Linked DNA regions of Homo sapiens: all the other regions are linked to region 3. Evidence: promoter capture Hi-C in 16 types of primary human blood cells and fetal thymus (Javierre and others, 2016). All regions are on one chromosome and are shown on one strand. The core of a region is centred on a gene start or on the middle of the fragment in contact, and the rest is flanking DNA. Distances in the headings are between cores, read along the strand shown. Region 1 overlaps ADAMTSL1 (ADAMTS like 1). Region 2 overlaps ADAMTSL1 (ADAMTS like 1). Region 3 holds the start of ADAMTSL1 (ADAMTS like 1).

Region 1 (3,864 bases), core at 619-3,118, 310 kb before region 3:
GTAGCCCAGAGGCTTGCAAGGGAGAATTTTATTTTGTACAAAAATTTTGGGCAACAGATTTGAGGTTCATGAAGAGTTTCATATCACCATTTGGCTAGGGCAACTTTTTTTAACCTTTGCTGTTTTTAATGTAATTGCCAACTAAAAGTTATTTAATGCCAGAAGCTTCATGATTGCTCAGATGGAAGTATAGAAAATATTTTAGGAATGGGAAAGGCCACCTGACCACACATTCTTAACCCTGGTCTTCTTCTTTTTGCCAGACCCTTTAACTTCCTTCTCTTTCAGAAGTTCATAGAGTCTTGAATTTGCTAATATGTGTATTTTATCTGCTTGCTGGGTAACTCATTTCAAATTACAAACCTCTGCATGAAATGACTGACTGGATTTCCTATCCACTAGGGATAGGGGTCCTCAAACTGCAGCCAATTACCACTTGCTTTTATAAATAAAGTTTTATTGGAAAACTAGCATATAGATTAAAGTATTATCTATGGCTGCTCTCACACTATAATGACAGAGTTGAGTATAGTCAGTTTAAGAACAGTCAAAGGTCATTCCTTACTCCTGATGCCTGCAAATCCTAAAATGTTTACTATTTGGCCCTTTACTAGAAAAGTTTGCTGACTTCTGGCATATAACATGGAAAAATTTTCATTTCTGGTTTATCTCAGTGACATCCTTATTTATACTAAAACAGTTAACCACTTTTCTGGAACTCTGCCATGTGCTAGGACCACTCTTCCAGGAAGAGTAAACTAACTGCTAGGGGGATCTCTGGAGATCCCCTAGCATTTCAGGGAATAGATAGTGCCTGACTCTAAGCCTCACTAGTACTGTCTGTTTGCCACTGGTTGTCTACTATCCTCCAGTGCTCTTCACCTGCATGATTCATGATGGTCATTTCTGCGACCACTGTGTTGACACTCAATACTTTTCTTTTGTGAGGCTTATGTATTTACTGGGACGGTTCTTTTTCTCTGGCTTGCTATTCTTACACTTTTCAACTGGGAAAAACATTTGTCATCTCCATTTCCTTTAGCTCTATAAGGGAAACAAGCCAAACCAAACTGAAATGGGCTTGTTTTTCCTTCCCTATCTTCCCTGCCTCTAGTTTTTATATTATCTGCAAACTTGGAAACTGCATTTCATGTGCTTATGACTTGTACATAGAGAATTATTCACAACTATGGTTCTGAAATTGACCCTGGAGGAATTTCCCATCTGATCTTCACTTCCATTCTGAGAAGTTTCCATCTGCTGATACTCTGAGTTGCCCAAGTTAAAGACTTCCAAATATGCCTTAATTCATCTCCTATTCAGCACCACTTTGGAACACTGTACAAAACTTTCTGGGAAATATAATCATTTAGAGGCTACAGATTTCACTTTCCTATCAGCTCAGAGATGATAGCAAAGAATGTCAGTAGAATATCAACATCCCCTCATGATGCCTGGATTTAGGCTGATAATTCTCCATCACGCTGTTTTCCTAGAAACCTTGCTAACCCAACTCTTTGAACAACTACCTAGATGTTCCTCAAATAAGAGTGAAGCTTCTTAGTTTGAGATGTCCTGGAAGACAGTGTGATACAATGGCCCCATGTCTAAATGACAATGATTTTGGATACTGGCAAATGAGTATCCACTGTGTGTCAGGCACGTTACAGACATTATTTCTGTTCTTTGCACTTCTGCTAGTCCGAAGGGCAGAATCAAAGTGCCTAATTGTACTAGTATCATTTTAGTTTAACTAATAAGAAAACCAAGGTTCAGAGAGATAAAAGTAGACTCACAATACTAAGTGGCAGAACTGGGATTTGTGCCAAAGTTGCTCTGATTCCAGCCTTACTGTCTCCTACCACCGTGGGCTGCCCTTTGTGTTAACTGATGTGCCATCAGGTTGCTCCTCTGGCTGAAGGGGTTGGGGAGGATAAGCTGGGAACACCTAGGCCCAGAAGAGAAGGAAAACAGGGAACAGGCTTAGGGATTAAAAGGCTGAAATTCCTTAGACTTAGCCATTTCCCTAGGATTCCATGTTAGTAGGAGTATCACCTGGGAGTGACCTCCCACCCACAGGAAGAAATAAGTATTTTCTTCAAGCATCTAGTTTCATATTATTCTTTAAGTTCACTTGCATTCCTTTTGAAAAGAAAAGAAAGTCTTACTTAAAAGCTTACAGACTTAAATCAGCTGAGCTATGAGGAATCTGTGATTTTGGGTTACTCCTGGTTCAATAGTGTTAAGTGGTAAGCAAGGCCTTCCCTGACAGTGTGGTGCTATCAGCAGTATGTAGGTGTTTCTTGGGGGAATGATCAATCCTCATCCAGTAATTTTTCCTAATTTGGTAATCCAATGTGCAGTGCCAATTTTGGAGAATCTGGCTCTTCTACAAGGAAGTCAGCACTGCCCTTCCAGGTATTGTTTCTAGAACTGGATTTAGACGTAGGAATACTGAACATATATTTGTCCATATTACGTAAGCCTCCTGGTATTAGATGTAGAGAAGGAAAATTTACCAGGTTCTTTGGCTAGGGGTGTTATACTCTATCCAAAAGCAGACTGGAGTTAGCTTTTGCCTGAGTCTCATCTCCAAATGTGTGCTCAGTGTTTATATAGAATGACTGAAAGCGAGGAACAGTTTAGCTTCATATTGCCTGTGGTCTAGGTCTCTAACCACACATGTGCCTGAGCCATCAACACTGTAAACATGTGCAGTCACAGACACACACAAATGTAGCAATTGTAATGTTTATTGAGTGCCTAATTTAGTGCATATTTGCATACACATGTGTATATATAAAGGTAGCGCTATCAGTAGAAGAAAAGGCTATCTTTAAAGCAGTTATGCCAAAATAAAAACAAAAGCCTCATCAGCTGGAAGCCAGTTGGCTAGAATATTGAATGTTAATTTATGCTGGGTCTAGTTGACCCCAGTGGCCTTCTTATAAAACAGTGGCAAGTCCCTGTATTCAACTAAGGTTATAATCAATAAAAAGAAATAGTTCCAAAAGCCAGACTGCCTTGGATTCAAATCCCAGCTCCATTAAGTTTTTTTTTTTTTAGACGGAGTCTCACTGTGTCACCCAGGCCAGAATGCAGTGGCACGATACCAGCTCACTGCAACCTCCACCTCCTGCGTTCAAGCGATTCTCCTGTCTCAGCCTCCCAAGTAGCTGGGACTATAGGCATGCACCACCATGCCCAGCTAATTTTTGTATTTTTAGTAGAGACAGGGTTTCACAATGTAGGCCAGGATGGTCTCGATCTCTTGACCTCGTGATCTGCCCACCTCGGCCTCCCAAAGTGATGGGATTACAGGCGTGAGCCACCGCGCCTCACCCCAGCTCGATTACTTTTTAAGTGAGAGACTTTGAGCGAGTTAATCTAACATCTCCGTGCTTCAACTCCAATATCGGTAAAATTGGGATAGTAACTTCAAAGGGTTATTGTGAGGATAAATGAACACCTGAAGCCCATTGTAAGTGCTCTATAAATGTTACCTGTGATGATGAGCCTGATGATTTCTCCACTGGCCTGGATGTGGTGGGAGACGGGATGTGATAGGAGATTTACTCTGTACTTATACACACTACAGCAGTGCTTTTCAAATTGCACAGTTGTGTCACAGAATCTCAGGGTTTCCTGAAACTTCTTTAGTGGAGAACATATGGGCAAGTCAGAAATGTTTGGTTAGGAACAGGTATCACTCTGGAACTCTTCCACAATGGCATAGGAAATCCAGACTATAAAAAACCTTGCAGACCGCAGCCTCCTCACAATAAGAAAACCTCCCTCCTAATCGTGGGCATCCAACTATTCATTCCTTTATTTATTCATTCAGTTTTTTATTTGTTGAGTGTC
Region 2 (3,611 bases), core at 844-3,343, 350 kb before region 3:
CCTTTCTACTTTCAGAATTAATGTTTCTGCTGTGGTTGTAAAACCAAGGTGTTGTCAGGAGAGAGGTTCCAGAATCCATGTGTTCTGGCTTTTTAGCTCTTTCTTGTTGAGAAGCTTGGTCAGGTTGCGGGAGATGATCTTTTCTAGCCTGCTGTAGTGTGACAGCAAATGCCACAAAAACAAACACCTGAAAATGACAGAAAATATGCTCTACCACAGAACAAAATCCAAAAGCTATGTTGTTGTGGACCAGCTACTTGGATAGGCTCCACATGCTAACCTCCCTGGTATTATTTGTATCTTAAAACAGCGAAGGAAAAGAACCCACGTTTGCATTTTCCCCTGTGGTGTATCTTTTCAACAGCCCCATGCTCTCCCTGCTGCTTGAAAGGATCAGTAAAAGAGCTTAGTCATACTGGGTGGTAACTTGATATGATTACAAGGTCCAGTGCCTTTGATGTCCATGGAGCTGCCAGGTAGGGTGATGCTAAAATATTCTTTTTTAAAAAGTCCCAGACAGGGTATTCTTGTTAACTGGATCCCTTATTACATTTGGAAGGCTGCCTGCACCATGGCGGTGTGTCAACATCTCAAGGTGGGGTTTCCACTCAAAGGTGCACCTTTACATGGGAAATTCTAGAAGCTTCCTAGGAGGTGTGGAGGTAGGGTGGCTTAGGGAAAGAAAAGAGAAAGGATACAGTAACTCAACTGTCAGTCTTGTCAATTATTCTAAAAAACCAAGGCAGTCTGGAAAGAAGGTTTCCAGCCTTCCACGTTTCTCCATACTGACTGTGGCAGACAACGATAGCTGTTCACAAAACCAGTTTCCCTCTTTTTCCTGAGTACCCAGTGAGCCTACCTTCCCCAGCATCCTTTGTAGTTGTGCGTGGCCATGTGACTAAAGGATTGTGAAAAGTCTTAATGTATGCTCCTTCCAGGCGTGGCCCTTAAAAGCCTTCTCAACCATCCTCCGTATTCTGTTTTCCCCTCTCCTGGTTGATAGGATAGAGGTAACCCCTATGGAGACCTTGGAAGGCATGTGTTCCAGATGTCAGACCCACCAGCATCCTGTGACCCTGCATGACACTGTGGGGGCAGATCCTCTCCAGATGACCAGGTGTACTCTTTGGGCTCTTAGATAAGCAAAAATAAACCTTCTATTGTATTTGAGCCATTATACATTTGGGGGTCTACTTGATACCAGAGTCTAATCTATCCTAATACACCACCCATCACTGACTCTTGAACTATTTCTGCATCCTTAGTCCTGCTGATTTTATCTCCTAAGTAAGTCCTTCAAATACTTCCTTTGCTTTTAGGAGAAAAACCTAAACTGTACCATAATCTATGAGAACATGTAAGATCTAGCCCCTGCCTACCCACACCTCCTCAGCCTCATATGCTACTTTCTTCTCTGCTCTTGATATTATAGCCACACCACCAGCCAGGTTTTACTTCTTTAAATGCAGCATGCTCTTTCTACCTCAGGCCCTTTGCACATTCTGTTCCCATTTACTGAAACACTGCTTCTTCCCCTGATCCTTTATCGCCGACTCAGTTTTCTGACCTCTTCAGAGAACAAATAGAGAACAAGCATGGGAGTGATACAGTGGATTAGGTCACTTTTCAAGAAAAAGCCTATCATACTCATTGCCTAATGCTGTTGATGCTTCAGGATTGGGAAGAATGTGAGGCTGCATTTTGTAAGCTGAAAGCACATGTACGCAAAAAGTTGTTTAATGAAAAACTGCTAACAATTCAAACATGTGAGTTGGTCTAGGTAAATTACATAATATTCTTAATATAGGCTATTATATAGCCATTAAAATTATGCTTATGACACAGACAAATGTTTATTACTGAGAGGAAATAAAGCAGGATAAAAGGGAATCATTAAGGAAATTAATAAAATGTCAGCTGTGGTTGAGTTTGGAGAGAACGACTTTGAACAAGCTGTTTTCTTTCCTTTTTGGACTCTTAAATTTTTCTGTGTTTTCTAAAATTTCTTTAATACTCTAATATTTTATAATAAGAAAACAACAACCGTATCTACATATCACATTGTATTATCATTACATATTTCATAACTTTTCTCCTTCCCAGACTGTGAGCTTCCTGAAAATTGTATCTTGTTTATCTGTGGCTCCTTGGATTAGGAGAAATTTGATCTAACCTGGATTAAATACTCCATAAAAAACTGCTAAATGAATAACATGAATGAATATGACATAAAATACTGCTTTAAGCAGGCCCTTATGGAGTCCCTCTTCCCTGTCTATTACGAGAATCTGGGTTGCAAATTCTCAAGCTAGAGTATTACCTACTGGCAGTGTTATTGGTGCTTAGAGAATCCCACCTAACCAATCAGGAGGTCACTAAGCTGCCTGACTGGGAATGGGATAGAGGTGACCAAGAGTAAGGAAAGAGCCTTAAGAGCTGCTTATAGCAGCAAAGTAAAAGTAATCCTCTGCCATTTGGCATTTAGCATTATAGCTGTCAGTGTTTTAACTGGAGACTAAGCTCACAGATGATTTCCTTGTCCAGCAAATTCACTGTGTAATTATAAGCAGGCTCTTTCCCACCTACTTTGAATGAGTATCTTGTTTAACAAGAGGAATAAGGACAAATATACAAATAATTATTTTAGTTAATCAGCATTAATACAGATGGTTTTATGGATAAAAACAAAAATAAAGACTGCAATGTCATAGCCAGGGAAAACTAGGTATATCAGGTTCTCACTATAAGGTTATCAAGTGAGCCTCTGGATGAAGTCCCAGAGAGAGGGCCCTAGGCGGCACAATAGAGTGGCCAAAGCTCGTTTTAATATCTTAGGCTCCCCAACGTAAATACTTCCTCAACCAGATTCTGGTCCTCTCAATCTCCTTTAAATGCCCATTTCCTTGTTTTGCTGCACTTTCCTCCCCTATTTTTTTTTTTTTTTTGAGACAGAGTCTTGCTCTATTGCCCAGGCTGGAGTGCAGTGGTTCGATCTCGGCTCACTGCAATCTCTGCTTCCTAGGTTCAAGTGACTCTCATGCCTCAGCCTCCTGAGTAGCTGTGATTACAGGCACTTGCCACCATGCCTGGCTAATTTTTGTAATTTTAGTAGAGATAGGGTTTCACCATGTTGGCCAGGCTGGTCTCAAACTCCTGACCTCAGGTGATCCACCCACCTTGGCCCCCCAAAGTGCTGTGATTACAGGTGTGAGTCCCCATGCCTGGCCCCTCCCCTATTCTTTTACTCCTACCAGTTCCACCTCTCAAGAAGATACACAACATGGTCCATCATATCACCAGTGTTTCATCGCCAAAGCATGTGTCCATAGTGATCAGGTGTGTGTTGAGGGGTGATGGTTCTGCAGAAAGGGCTCTACTGGCACCACCATTAATCCCTGCACAGAGGGGTAGCTCATTCATGCCAACCCCTGTCAGGGGTTTTGTCTTACTCCCTATCTAGGAGTACAGGGGCTGAAGGGACTTGGTTCTAGATTTCACTGATGAGGCTGGAAGGGAAACATCACAAAGGCCATGAGAAGCTTTACAAAGGCAAAGCTAATGCACACTTACAAAGATATATTTATATTTCAGATATCCTAATTTTTTTTTTT
Region 3 (4,057 bases), core at 1,133-3,632:
TAATGCTAAAGGGGGCAGTTAATGAGCAAGTTTAACAAGTGCTCATGATATTGTACATATCTTTAATGATCAAGATGATGCAGAAAGCCTAAATATCTGCAACAAAGGGTACAGACCAACCTGCACCACTGTTTTCATTGTTCTTAAATATTTACAACCACCATACGAAGCAAACATGTTCTATTCTCTCCATTATTTGACCTTTGGGTTCAAATGCAAGCTTATTTCATTGCCTGAAAAAACGGGTTTAAAATGTCTTATCTGTATGATTATTGTAAGGATTTATTGTAATGATTTTCAAACAACTAGCCACATTCAGACACAAAATACATGACAGCTATTACTAATGCTGTTATTGCTTGGCAAAGGGATGTATGTAAACATCAGTCAGTTCTTCCTTTTGTAGCATAACTCTCAGATTTCCACTTAATTTAAATGCAGGCATAAAACAAACCTAGGTTTGTTTTAATTTTATCTTTATAATACAATTATTGTAATTTAAATATGATATGTTTTAAGTCCTTCTGAAATAAGCATACATACCTTTTCATTCCACATAAGTCAAATTATATGCTCTAATACATATATGAATATTCAAGATATCACAGAGGGATATAATGCGTTTACCAAATGGATAGCAAAACAATCTATTCCTGAATGGGAAAGTTTTACTAAAGTATAATGAGATCATACTTCCATATGAAAATATCAAAAAAGTAATGTATACTGGTAATTTGCTTTATGATGCAATATAATGGGAAAATAACACACACTTAAAAAAATCACAAAGAAGGAAAGATGAGACAAACTAATGGTGTATACAAGTAACACATCCCATATGGAAAAAATGAGACACCTTTCATAAATCGCTTGCTCCACAAGTCATAAAGCATACCTAAACATTCTGTTCTTTGTATTTTTCAGAACAGCTAAAACTTATAGTTCATTCATGCTTGAAATGTAGTTTACCTTTAAATTTCTATGAAAAATTAAAAATTTATTTCTATATTTATAGCACTTGCAATGCAGCATTATAATTTCTTAGCTACAATGATGCAAATCATTAAGAAGTGGGAATGTATAAAATATTGAATCACTGTCTGATTACTCTATTTGATGAATCTCCTGGACTTTTTCAGTTTGTACCAAATGGCTTTCTTCCCTACTTCAAAATTATAGCGCAGATCAGATTTGTCAGAATATAATCAGAACAAACATTCCTTCCCCATCAAGGAATCAATGCAACCTATTCATTTGCTACATTTTTACCTTGTTCTCTTCCTGCCTTGTTACCTTCTGAGGAAGTTCTGGCATGTTATAAATGTGACAGGAAAAACTACAATCACATTTGTTTGGATCAGTGTGTGCAAATTTTGGAATCAAACCTTCAGATGAGGTTTACTAAGCTGCCTGCCCAGAACACTCTGGTTTAAAAAATGTGCATTGCTATTAATATTTTGAGTGTAGATTTATTTTGGACAGTAAATGTTCATTTTCTGCCCATAAAACCAAGTATGAGTCACAACGGAACATTTACTTCGAGTCAAAAATGCAATGTGTACTGACGTTCAAGAGCAGAGCATCTTATCACTATGACTGTGGCAATCAGCCGTACTAAAAGTCACCATTCCTTTTTCTTCTTTAAAAGTAAATTTGAGATCAAAGGCCATAATCCTCAATTCATAAATCCTAGCATTAACTTCTATCCATAAATGACTTGCAGTAATTAAGAGCCATAATCTGGGTTGGCTGCAAAGAGGCTCTCATTCCCCTCTTTACCTGGTTCCATAGTACATGTGCATAGATGGAAAGTAATTCATTAAAGGCGGTACGGGCAAGCTCTGCAAAGCCTATCCATCAAAAAATTCCAGGAACACCACAGTGAGTGAGTTTAATTTCAGGATGTCTGTTATCCAAATTCCAAGCATACACACCACCATATATACAGTCCTCAGCTCCCAAACTCCATGCAGTATGTCCCAAAGTTCATGTCTCAGTATCAGTATTACTGTATAGCAGTAACTAATTCCAGAAAGTCTTGCAGACTTTATCTTGCTTGGGAAGTTGAGGTTAAAAGTTCTAGAAGGAGTATTCTCTCTTTGTAATCGTGTAAATTATTTTACCTGGAGTTTTAAGATAAAGACACACACACACACACAAACACACATACACACACACACCCCCAACAGCACCCAGACTCAATGGCAATAGCAATGCATTGAAATGAAAAGGCATTTACCAGGAGCAGGAAAGCCAGAAAGAGGAGCAGTGTGCCAGGAGTTGCCCGACGGCAGCATTCCATGCTTGGATCCTTGCCGGAATCAGAATCGGACACTGAATAAGCTGCTAAGTGCTCCTCTGCCTGCTGTCACATCCAGTACTGGTGCTAACACTCCAGTCCTGCCTATCAGCTTCCATCAGCCCCTCTCACATTTCCTGACCGAGGGGTGGGTGGGTGGATGGGTGGGGGGTAAGCTGAATGGAATCTCTCTCGGAGCAGGCAGCCAGCCAATCAGGCTCCTGCTAATCAGACATGCTGAATAACAAAGCCAGGAGGACAGAGAAAGTGTAACGGTGCGAGCAAAAAAGGGGGAAAAGGACGAAAAAGAAAGGCGAGCGAGCAGCAGAGCGAGAAGGGAAATGCAAAAGATGCAGAATTGCAAAAGATGAAGCCAAGCACTGTGCTTCCCATGGACCTGGTTAGTTCTTTGTGAGATGCATTTCTATTTGCCATTTGCCTGTGCTGATGTCTGTTGCTTTGTAAAGTACAGTAGCTCCCTGTGACTGTGTATTGTTCCATTCAGGAGAGAAACTTAATCCCTGTCAATATATAACATATGCCATAAAGGGAAAGAACCATAGACAAAAACCGACTTAATGTGCCCTGTAAATGTGTTCTGTACAACTGTTTTATTTCGCCTCCATAAAGTTCCTCTTTACTTTCTCTCTTGACTTGCAAAATAAATACTCTATACATTTTCTGAAGGTTCCTCACTAAGCCTAAACAGTGGCATAAGTTATTTTGTGTTATTAAGGACTTAATTTGGGGGGAAAAAAACAAAGCAAGTTGCTTCTCTGTAAAGTGACAATTGAAGGCATTTAAGATTTGCTAATTGTAAAGGCACAATTAGAAACTTAGATCCCCCAGTTTAAAAAGAAACCCTCAACAAAGACTCCAGGATGAGTGGGGCTGAAATTTGGGGTTGAGGAGCAGCCTGGTTTTGATGCACTGCCAACTCTCAACTATCTATTTTAGCCACGGGAGAGAAAGAAAGGATGAATTAAATCCTCAGTTAATCCCCAAACCTTCTTTTAACCAAGTTTCAGCTTCCTCCGCACCTCACCCACGTCCTTTATCAGAGCTGTTATAATGCAGAAAAGGCTGAACTGAGTTTTACCTCATTTTTCCATCCACTATTGCAAGAGGGTTGGATGGGATGACCTTGGAGGCCAGTCCAGCCCTGAAGGAAGTGCTAATGAGCAGTGAAATGACGACAAGGCCAGCAACAGCAACGAGAAGGTCAGGAAGCTTCTGAAGCTGCTTAATCCACCAGCAAGGGAGATTTGACTCTACTAGAGGAAGGTTTTATTACAGTTTTAGAAAAGTGTCAAATGTCAAACAAGGATGTATTTCCCCTTATCTGCAAAGGAAATCATTGAGTTTTGAAAGAATAAAAGAGCAGCCCTGGCCTTACATTGCCATAGGTGTGTCATCAGGACGTTTTCCCTTTTCAGATCTCCTGATAGCCCAGAAATATATGCAGTGGAGGTACAAGACATTTAGAATTAATGTTCTTTCCTTTCATTATTAAAAAATACTGACAAGAGGTATGAAACACACGAATATGGAAAACCTGATCAAGCCATAATGGGCATGTGAATACAGGCAGGTCTGCCTATGTACATACCTGCTGCGTTGCTTTTCAAAAAGGTGAAGAAAAGCAGGTTGTTCAACTTTAGGTTACCTACTTCATATGGTATATCAATTAAAGAGAGAGAAACTTTAAAAATCCTATTTTCATGCTGTTAGGAAAGTCAAGGTCATACAAAGATTATC

What was found. Contacts are between HindIII fragments. The CHiCAGO score rates a contact against its expected background, and 5 or more counts as called.
Region 1: a contact is called between a fragment that was not itself captured here and the fragment with the promoter of ADAMTSL1 in region 3, in 1 of 17 cell types (endothelial precursors). The highest score is 7.2, in endothelial precursors.
Region 2: a fragment that was not itself captured here is called in contact with the fragment with the promoter of ADAMTSL1 in region 3 in 1 of 17 cell types (endothelial precursors); the score reaches 6.3 in endothelial precursors.

What each region holds. Positions count from the first base shown.
Region 1 is chr9:18,784,363-18,788,226 of GRCh38, reverse strand. The region is part of intron 19 of ADAMTSL1 (ADAMTS like 1); the gene reads right to left. Among named protein-coding and RNA genes, the nearest start is that of MIR3152, 210 kb to the right of the region's middle. The HindIII fragment of the contact is 619 bases long and covers 1,559-2,177 here.
Region 2 is chr9:18,818,790-18,822,400 of GRCh38, reverse strand. The region is part of intron 21 of ADAMTSL1 (ADAMTS like 1); the gene reads right to left. Among named protein-coding and RNA genes, the nearest start is that of SAXO1, 210 kb to the left of the region's middle. The HindIII fragment of the contact is 2,896 bases long and covers 646-3,541 here.
Region 3 is chr9:18,472,478-18,476,534 of GRCh38, reverse strand. It overlaps ADAMTSL1 (ADAMTS like 1), which reads right to left and starts at 2,382. Exons shown (of 29, transcript NM_001040272.6): 1 at 2,240-2,382. The coding sequence starts at 2,302. The HindIII fragment of the contact is 3,309 bases long and covers 223-3,531 here.